Linked DNA regions of Homo sapiens: all the other regions are linked to region 3. The links are contacts of gene promoters, found by promoter capture Hi-C in human tissues and cell types (Jung and others, 2019). All regions are on one chromosome and are shown on one strand. Each heading gives the region's core, a stretch centred on a gene start or on the middle of the fragment in contact. The rest is flanking DNA. Distances are from core to core; before and after follow the strand shown. Region 1 has its middle 110 kb from the start of INSIG1. Region 2 has its middle 11 kb from the start of PAXIP1-DT. Region 3 holds the start of EN2 (engrailed homeobox 2).

What was found. The method cuts DNA at HindIII sites, captures the fragments that hold promoters and counts their contacts. A contact is called where the count stands out against the background at its distance.
Region 1: a contact is called between a fragment that was not itself captured here and the fragment with the promoter of EN2 in region 3, in 1 of the 25 tissues and cell types used here (thymus).
Region 2: a contact is called between a fragment that was not itself captured here and the fragment with the promoter of EN2 in region 3, in 1 of the 25 tissues and cell types used here (spleen).

The regions. Positions count from the first base shown.
Region 1 is chr7:155,189,522-155,192,665 of GRCh38, forward strand. No RefSeq gene overlaps it. Among named protein-coding and RNA genes, the nearest start is that of INSIG1, 110 kb to the right of the region's middle. The HindIII fragment of the contact is 6,182 bases long and covers 1-3,144 here.
Region 2 is chr7:155,012,966-155,016,240 of GRCh38, forward strand. No RefSeq gene overlaps it. Among named protein-coding and RNA genes, the nearest start is that of PAXIP1-DT, 11 kb to the left of the region's middle. The HindIII fragment of the contact is 4,543 bases long and covers 1-3,275 here.
Region 3 is chr7:155,456,844-155,460,053 of GRCh38, forward strand. It overlaps EN2 (engrailed homeobox 2), which reads left to right and starts at 1,286. Exons shown (of 2, transcript NM_001427.4): 1 at 1,286-2,219. The coding sequence starts at 1,535. It overlaps EN2-DT (EN2 divergent transcript), which reads right to left and starts at 275. Exons shown (of 3, transcript NR_186580.1): 1 at 147-275. RefSeq lists an enhancer at 1-939. The HindIII fragment of the contact is 19,554 bases long and covers 1-3,210 here.

The DNA of each region.
Region 1 (3,144 bases), core at 350-2,849, 270 kb before region 3:
AGGCCCACTGCCAGCTTCACCTTCAGATTTTACACATCCTCTTCCTCAACTTTAGAGTGACAACAAATGTAGTTCACACATATGAACCAGTGAGTGAACGTGTGCAATGAAAATGCGCTTACATTTAAAAATCAAATTGCAGCAGGCCTTTCTGAGCTGGGCAGACCCTGTGCTGGGTCTACGACAGCACATCCCCCTCAGACGTGGCCCGCACGCCGCACATAGCCCAGCGAGGGGCGTTCTGCAGAAACGTCAGCGAGCTCATGGCTAACGTGCTCAGAATAGACACTGCCAGCTAACTTCCAGTCACCTGGCTATGACACACTCAAGCCTGTGAGAGTGAACCGGGTTTGTAAAAACCAGGACTAGTCAAAGCCCATTATTAAGTTTTACACTTTGCTCCCTGGCCTAAGGGAGTAGAAATCCAAGCTTGAAGGGAAAGGAGGGGTCTGATTTGGTGAACAGAGATATGAGGCTGAGGCTTCTGAGCACGTGGGTTTGGGGTAGGGGTAGGGGCGTGGGGGTACTGAAGATCAAGAAGAGGCTGAGGACACTCAAGGGAGAAACCCGGGCTCTAGAGCCAGCCCCCGTGGGACAGGCCCTGGCTCTGTGTGATCTTGGGCAAGTCTTAGCCTTTCTGTGCCTCAGTTGCTTACTGTAGAATGCGGTAACTACTGCTGTTATGGGCAGGGTTATGTCCCCCCAAATTTATAGTTGAAGCTCTAACCCCCCAGTGTCACTATACCTGGAGATGGGGACTCTAAGGAGGTGATTAAGGTTAAATGAGGTCAGAAGGGTGGGACCCTAACCCAATAAGACTGTGGCCCTAGAAGAAGATGAGAAGCTCTCTCTGTCTGTCTCTCTGTTTCTCTCTCTGTCTCTCTTTCTCTCTCTGTGATATAAAGGTGGCCATTGGAAAACCAGGAAGAGAGGCCTCAGGAGAAACTAACCCTGTTGATCTTGGATTTGGACTTGGACTTGATCTCAGACTTCCAGGGTCCAGAACTGTGAAGAAATAAATGATTGTTAAAGCCACCTCGTCTGTGACAATCACCCCCCCCCCCCCCCGCAGCGATTTGGTGAACTGGAACTGAACATACACAACACCCCTTCTTCTTCCAACTCTCCTTCTCTGTGCATTCTTTCACTCCCACCCGACTCCCACCCCCAAATCTTCATAGAAACATCTGGAGAATGTGCTCAAATCTCAAACCCCGGGGCGGGACCCTGCACTACCAAGCGCGGCCACTGAGCGGCACTCACACCCGGCGGCGCGCGCTGGTTCTCCCGCTCCGGCCGCGGGACTGGTGCGCACCTGGGACGCGGCCAGAGAGGCTGAACCCCTAACGTTTTATTCTGATGAATTTAGATTGAAAGATGGAAGCTATGTACGTTATTTTTCCTTTAAATGGACCTTCATGGTTCCACTAGGGCGACATGTTGCTGCAATGGCTAATCATTCAGCCTCCGAAGGAGACGTGCGGCGACTGAAACGCACGCCAGATTTTGAAGACCGTAGGAAAAAAAAAAAAGCGAGCCAGTCATTGAGACTTTTTAAATTGATTACATGTGGAAATGCTAATGTTCCAGCGGGACTGGATTAAACAGGACATTATTAACATGCATTCCACCTGTTTCTGGTTACTTTTTAAATTTGGCTAAATGGGCATTTTACATTACAGGTGTGTGGGGGTGGGGGCTGACCTGTGGCCTCGGCTTCTGGCCCTGGGCCTTCCCTTCCTCCCACTTGCCACGGGGGCCGGGTCCGGGAGCAGAGCTCTGCAGTTAGGGCTGCTGAGAGGCGCAGGTGCAGAGGACGGGTGGGTGCCCAGGCCCAGGGCACAGGGTCAGGGGTCGGAAACCTGCCAGTCTTTAAAACTACATTTCACAGAGGATCCATCCCGGCCGTCTATACATAGGGTGGGTCCTCCGTCAATCCATCCAGCACCCACTGAGTTCACCCCATCTATCCTATGTATAAGAAAATCGCGGACCGATCACGGGGGCTCATGTCTGTAATCCCAGCACTTTGGGAGGCTAAGGCAGGTGGATCACCTGAGGTCTGAAGTTCCAGACCAGCCTGGACAACATGGTGATACCCCGTCTGTACTAAAAACACCAAACTTAGCCCTGCGTGATGGTGCATGCCTGTAATCCCAGCTATTCAGGAGGCTGAGGCAGGAAAATCACTTGAACCCAGGAGACAGAGGTTGCAGTGAGCAGAGATCACGCCACCGCACTCCAGCCTGGGTGACAGAGCGAGACTCCATCTCAGAAAAAAAAAAAAGTGAAAAAGAAAAAAAAGAAAATCACCCAGTGCTTGGCAGTCACCATACAGCCAAGACCCACCCATCATTCAAGTCCACCCCAGGCTGGCTTCATTATTTTTGGGGAGGACTGGACCTTCATTTGACTTGCTATTTACCATTGATTAGGGCCTAGACTTTGTGAAGTTACATGTTAATTTGTAGATATTTTGTCAGTAGAGATGCAAATGATTTCAGTCTGGTGGAGAATGAAATCACTGAAACTACTGGCCCCCAAGGCCGTGGTTTTAGTTTGCGGTAGGATATTGATCACTTTGGCCTCTAACTTAGCAGACTTCCTTTACAGGGGCTGTGTTGGCTGATGAAACAAAACTCTGTCAGCCACTCTTTGAACCAGTTGTACAATTTTGCCCTTTCCCAGTCTGGGCTAAGCAAATCTCTGATGTGTTCATTCCAGATTTGTATGAGAGTCTTATATTTAACTGTTAAGTTTATAAGGTTTACTCAAGTAGTTAACTGAATCAGGAGAGAAATTTGAGATGAGGTTGAGGTTAACCCCTGGGGAAATGATGTCCACAGCATCACAGGGAATGGTTACCCTAAGCCGGGGCATGCACGTGGGGAGGGAGGAAAACTGGAAAGACTCTTTCATCCAGAAAGATGAAGGCTGAGAGGGGAGGCAGGTGGCATTTGTGATTCCATAGACAGCGTCAAAGAGAGGAACCTAAGCTTGTTGCCAAACCTGAGAAGTAGAAACCTCTTTCAGGTGAAAAGAGGCTGTGTGAGAGGAGAAAGGAAGGGAGTCTCTGCTTCAATGGTGTCAGAAGTGGAGGAATCTTTGACAGATGCTGGAGTCAGTCTGTGTCCCGTGTCTTTG
Region 2 (3,275 bases), core at 680-3,179, 440 kb before region 3:
TGAATGAATTAAGGATTCAAGTTTTGGAGAAGAAATTGTGCCCCATCTGCTTCTACTGGTGCTTTCCAACACCTTAATTAGATGGGCTACACTTAATTCCTGTGGGAGTTCCTAGGTCCCAGGTGTAGGAAATACACACTGAAGTAAGAGAGTCCTGAAATTTGGGAGATTCCCTGCAAATTGGGGCTACTCACCTTCCTGTAAGCAAGACCAAGTGTCTATCGAAGGTATTCTCTGCTGGCAAATGATTTATGGCGCTGGCTTTTGGGAATCCGTATTCGCTCACCGACTCCCACCCCGCAGAGTGCACCACGTGCTTGTCAGTTGCATGGAGCCTGAGAACAATGTAAAAAAATACTCCTGGCAGGATACCTGCTTAGATATTTTCAAGCTTAGAAAAATCATTTTTTCACACCTGTAATCCTAGCACTTTGGGAGGCCAAGGCAGGTGGATAGTTTGAGGTCAGGAGTTCGAGACCAGCCTGGCCAACGTGGTGAAAACCTGTCTCTACTAAAAATACAAAAATTAGCCAGTTGTGGTGGTGAGTGCCTGTAATCCCAGCTACTTGGGAGGCTGAGGCACGATAATCACTTAAACCCAAGAGGTGGAGGTTGCAGTGAACCGAGAGCATACTACTGCACTTCTAGCCTAGGCAACAGAGTGACTCTGTCTTAATAAGAAAAAAAAAGAAAGAAAGAAAAGAAAAATTATTTTTAATGGCACCAAGCAACCCAACCTTTTTCTTTATTTGGTTGTTGTTCTGAGACATTTCCCAGAGGTTAGGAATTTATATCCAAAAATAATGTTGACAGGCATGACAGTTTGGGGTTGAAGAGAGAATTGGGCTTGTTTGCAAAATCTCTTTAATTTATCTCAGACATTTCACCAGCTAATTAATGAAGATCCCAAGCCAAGATCTAGTTCTGTATCATAACACCCTGAAAAGATTTTAACAGCTTCTCTAACTCTAACTGCCTCGTCTGTTGCTCCTGTTTAACACTGTGTCCGTCTCCAAGATGACGGGAGTCAATCTCACTTCTTTCAGAGACTACACTAAGGTTGAGAAAGGTGAGGCCCAAGGAATTCAAGTGAGTTTCTCATTGTCACAGTTACTGGCAGAGTCTGGGTTACGCTCTCCTTTTTAGACTTATTCTAATTCATTCTTTAAAAACATTGAAAGGAAAGAGTTTTAATTTCATATACAATAGAAATAGAAAAGAGGAAAACTCTCTAAAAGTAATATTTATACTACGGAAAAATCTAACTTTATTTTGGTTGAAAAGAGTATACAGATTTATATTTTTTGTAGCTAATACATATTTCTCTTTTGGAAGTGGTTGAAGTGGAAGAGACAATTTTATGTTTAATGTCTCGCGTCAGTTTTAATTTTCTGATTTAATTAGTTTCCTAATTAGAAGGGGTTAAATTAATTAACCTCATTATTTACTATATATTTAATGATTTCTCATCTATGGGGAGTTACTTAATTTTCAATAATTGGAAAGCTTATGACAAGAGGGGATATTGCCAAGTCTTACACTTATTGTTTTATGATCAGTGGCAGGAATAAGACAGATTAAGGGGAATTTTAGGTGAGATATCAGATACTTGCAAAGGTATTTCTTACTTGTTTTGAACCATGATGCATGTAAAAACTTGAGTTGAGACTCCATAATTTCTGTCCAATTTGAACTCAATGGATATGTCCTTTGTTTAAGGATAAAATACATCCTAGAACATAGACTTCTATAAGAAATAGCCCTGTCACATGATCTCAGTTATAGACAATAAAATAATCATGATGCATCAAATAATACTAAATAATTATAATGAAAAGGAGAGCTTCTGAAACTATCATCTGGTATAAATGGCATAATAAAATATTTAGTTTTTCCTCAGACTTGCCGGTGGACTAAATGGATGACATTTTGGGAAGAAATAACAGATTGATAAGCCTAGCAGCTATATGGCTTGAGGAAATCAATAAGCCATGTTATTTCATGTTTATAAATACAAACAATTTGTGGATAACTATGTTTTCATGTAGTGATGTGTTTTCCGAGAGCAAAAATGAGGCTGCATCTACAAAATGGCTGAATTTGCCTTCTCTTCCCACTTTAGAAGGGCCTCTGCACGGAGATTTGAGCAGCCAGAACTCTGCAGGCAGACACGGACAGAGAGAGGACACTGTTGCCCATTTCTCCCTGTCTCTGCATTGCTCCTTATCCACAGCACCACTACCTGGGAGAGACCCTGATCCATCAAGAGGTTATGTGAGTAAAGCTTGGGTACTGGTATGGTTTAAAACACAAGCCCAACGCATGTAGTCCAGTGAAGTGGTCTGATGATAGGAAATCCACTGTAGTTGAACAAACCTGTACTGAGCACGTAGGTGCATTGCATATAGGCTTTGTGTTGCAGTCAAGGCCCGTCCATGGAGTGACTGAGTTCCAGCCTGTAAGCAGCATATCAAATGCCAACGTGAGTTGCATAGAGTAATGGAATACAAAGTGTGAGATGCGACGGAGACAGGGATGTTTTGGGAGGTTGTCTTAGAGGAGGGGTCTTGAGAGACCTTCGAAGATCAACAGGAAGAGAAGGATGCCTGTTCCCTGTGGAAGAGAAGCCTGAGCAGAGGCCTGGGCTTGGGAATGAGCATGGTGGGCTGGCAGGACTAGCAGTCAGCTCCTGCCTGGAGGAAGATGTTGCGGGATGGAGCGCGGGAGACATGTACAAAGAAGCAGATTGGAGACCTTCGGGGAAAAGCTTTATATGAAGAAATGACTGTCCATATTTCTCATAAATTAGAATCCTACTATTTTCAATTCCTATCAAAAAAATTTACAGGCTGAAGTTGAGACAGTAAAAACTGGTATTCCATTTGATTCCATTTGGAAAATATCTGCCCTTATTCTGTTTATTTTATTTTATTTTTATTTTATTTTTTGTTTTATTGAGACAAGGTCTCACCCTGTCACTCAGGGTGGAGTGCAGTGCTGCAATCTTGGCTCACTGCAACCTCCGCCTCCCGGGTTCAAGCAATTCTCCTGCCTCAGTCTCCCACGTAGCTGAGAGTACAGACACGTGCCACCACGCCTGGCTAATTTTTGTATTTTTAGTAGAGACGGGGTCTCATCATGTTGGCCAGGCTGGTCTCAAACTCCTGACCTCAAGCGATCTGCCGGCCTCGGCCTCCCAAAGTGCTGGGATTACAGGCGTGAGCCACCGTGCCTGGCCTGCCCCTATTCAGTGTATAATAGCAGGCAAAATAGTG
Region 3 (3,210 bases), core at 36-2,535:
GATTTCTCCCTTCGCAAATGGAGCCGCATACTGCATTCCCCCGCTCTTTCGGATCGCTAAGCATGTTTCATGAGGGTCGCTGTCCCCGGGTGGAATGCGGCCGTATGCACGCGCCTCCCTGCACACGCACACACACGCACACTTACAATAAGTGTCTGCAGGAGGAGTGTCCTGCGCGCCAGCTCTGCGTTTAAGACAGGAAGCTGCCGGGTTACCGAGTCAAATGGGAGTGACACTATTCCTCTCCATCAGCAAGGAAAGCGGACCACAAAAGTCCCTTTGTATCTCGGCAGCTCATTTAATATTATTTATGCATTTTGTGCAAGGAATTGTGGGATTTCGCCCCACGGTAAACAATATGGAAATCTTAAAAATAGCGATCTTCCTGTGCGTGTCCACCTACGCGCCCCGGGGTGACCTGGCGGGGCTGTCGCCGGGTGACTCACACCCCTGAACCGCGAAGCGACAGGGAAAGCGCGGGCGAGCGCAGGAGACGCGGTCGGGGGTCTCTCCGGGTTCCTGGGCTCCCGCACCCGGAGCGGGGGACGCGGCCGCTTTAAGGGGAGGAGGGGCGGCGGGCTGCTCCTGTCACCCAGCGGCGGCCGGAGCGTCACGTGGGCGCGCGGCGCCGCGGCCATTGGCCCGAGGCACGTGTCCAGGAGACCGGCCTGCGACGTCACTCGAGGGGGCTCTGTTAAAAATAAGAACAAAAATCCAGAGTGAAAGTGTCTCAGGTTGCGCCGAGTGGCCTGGAAATTTCCGAGCCCGCGCGGAGGCCGAGGCGGCGAGGGCGGCGGACGGCCGGGGAGCGCGGGCGGCCCAGCCCGGCCCGGCCGGGCCCTGGCCTCGCGTCTCTCACCCATGCGACTCGGGCCGCGGAGCTCTGCGGGGCTCGGCGGGGGCGCGGCCGCACGCCGGTGGGGCGCCCCGGCCCGCAGCGGGGCGGCGGCCGCGAGGAGGGGGCCTCCATGTGCGTGCGGGCGGTGGCGGGCGCGCTGACCGCGGGCGCCCGGCACCCTCGAGGGCCGGCTAGGGCGTGCGGGCGGGGACGGCCGGGCGGCGGCGGCGGCCGGAGCCGGCCCGGGCGGGCGTGAGCGCCGGGGAACGCGCTGCCTGCATGCGCGCAGCTCTCGCCCCGGGCGGCCCAGGCGGCGGCGCCGGAGCCCGAGGCGGCCGGACGCGGAGAGGAGCGGGGAGCCCGGGAGGCGGCCCGCGTCCCCGCCGGACCACTGCGACTGTCTAGACCCCGGCTGCGCGGCGAAGTCGAGGACTTGGCTCTGTTGAATCTCTCATCGTCTGGGCGAGCGGGGCGGCTCGTGGTGTTTCTAACCCAGTTCGTGGATTCAAAGGTGGCTCCGCGCCGAGCGCGGCCGGCGACTTGTAGGACCTCAGCCCTGGCCGCGGCCGCCGCGCACGCCCTCGGAAGACTCGGCGGGGTGGGGGCGCGGGGGTCTCCGTGTGCGCCGCGGGAGGGCCGAAGGCTGATTTGGAAGGGCGTCCCCGGAGAACCAGTGTGGGATTTACTGTGAACAGCATGGAGGAGAATGACCCCAAGCCTGGCGAAGCAGCGGCGGCGGTGGAGGGACAGCGGCAGCCGGAATCCAGCCCCGGCGGCGGCTCGGGCGGCGGCGGCGGTAGCAGCCCGGGCGAAGCGGACACCGGGCGCCGGCGGGCTCTGATGCTGCCCGCGGTCCTGCAGGCGCCCGGCAACCACCAGCACCCGCACCGCATCACCAACTTCTTCATCGACAACATCCTGCGGCCCGAGTTCGGCCGGCGAAAGGACGCGGGGACCTGCTGTGCGGGCGCGGGAGGAGGAAGGGGCGGCGGAGCCGGCGGCGAAGGCGGCGCGAGCGGTGCGGAGGGAGGCGGCGGCGCGGGCGGCTCGGAGCAGCTCTTGGGCTCGGGCTCCCGAGAGCCCCGGCAGAACCCGCCATGTGCGCCCGGCGCGGGCGGGCCGCTCCCAGCCGCCGGCAGCGACTCTCCGGGTGACGGGGAAGGCGGCTCCAAGACGCTCTCGCTGCACGGTGGCGCCAAGAAAGGCGGCGACCCCGGCGGCCCCCTGGACGGGTCGCTCAAGGCCCGCGGCTTGGGCGGCGGCGACCTGTCGGTGAGCTCGGACTCGGACAGCTCGCAAGCCGGCGCCAACCTGGGCGCGCAGCCCATGCTCTGGCCGGCGTGGGTCTACTGTACGCGCTACTCGGACCGGCCTTCTTCAGGTGAGCCCGCGGGGACCACGCGTCCCGGCTCGCCGCGGGGAGGCCCGCGGAGCTGGGGGGCGGTGCTGGCGCGGGAACTTACCGGGAGGAAAACATCTCGAACCTCCCCCGCGCACACGCACAAAGACTCACGCGACATTGTGTGAAGCTGACGCCGGCCCGGGCAGCGGCCAGGAGTCCAGCGGCAGGACTGATTCGCTAGGGGGTACAGACTTCTTAGGACCGCAGAAGGGACCTTCTTTCTTTCTCTGTCTCTCTCTCTCCTTCCTCTCTCCCTGTCTCCCCTCTCTGTCTTCCACCCCGCCTTGGCGCATCTCTTCCCAGCCCCTAGCCCATGTCTCCCCCACTGTAGTTTTTTTTGGTGGGAACGTGGTGGCTGGAAGATGGGCCCGGAAGTGCACACTCTCATCCCCTTCCCTACGATCTTCCAACTCAGGCCAGGCCGGGGACGCATGCCCCAGCCCACCCCAGACTTGTCCTACCATCCGGTTATCCCGGCTGTGCTCGGGGAAGAAAAGGCGAGGCCCTTTGCCGCTCTGCCTTCTGCCCCTCGGGCCTGCGCTGACCGGTGGGACTCAGGAGGATGCACACAGGGAAGGAGGAAAATAAAGGCGCCCTTTCCCCTTGGCTCCACTTTGTTTGCCAGCGCCAGCCCGCAGTGGTGGGGCTCAGCCCCCTTCCTGCACACAGCGAGGACAAGGGAGGCAGCCGTCCCTCCCGGCACCTGCCATCCCCAAATAGAAAGGACCTTCTCTCAGGGTTTCCTGGGGGCTGCTGATGGGAAAGAGGCAGCATTCGCAGGGGCCCTGCAGAGATGCTGGATATATTTTTTCATAGATCTGCGATTTTAAAAAACTAAGTCCATGTCCTTGTAGAAATCATCAACTGCATTCCATGCGGGTCTGCGGCTGGGAACCGCCATTAGAAGTGGACTGTTTGACCCCGAGCTGGCAGCGGATCCCCGCTGCCCCCAAACCCTCAACTATTTTGC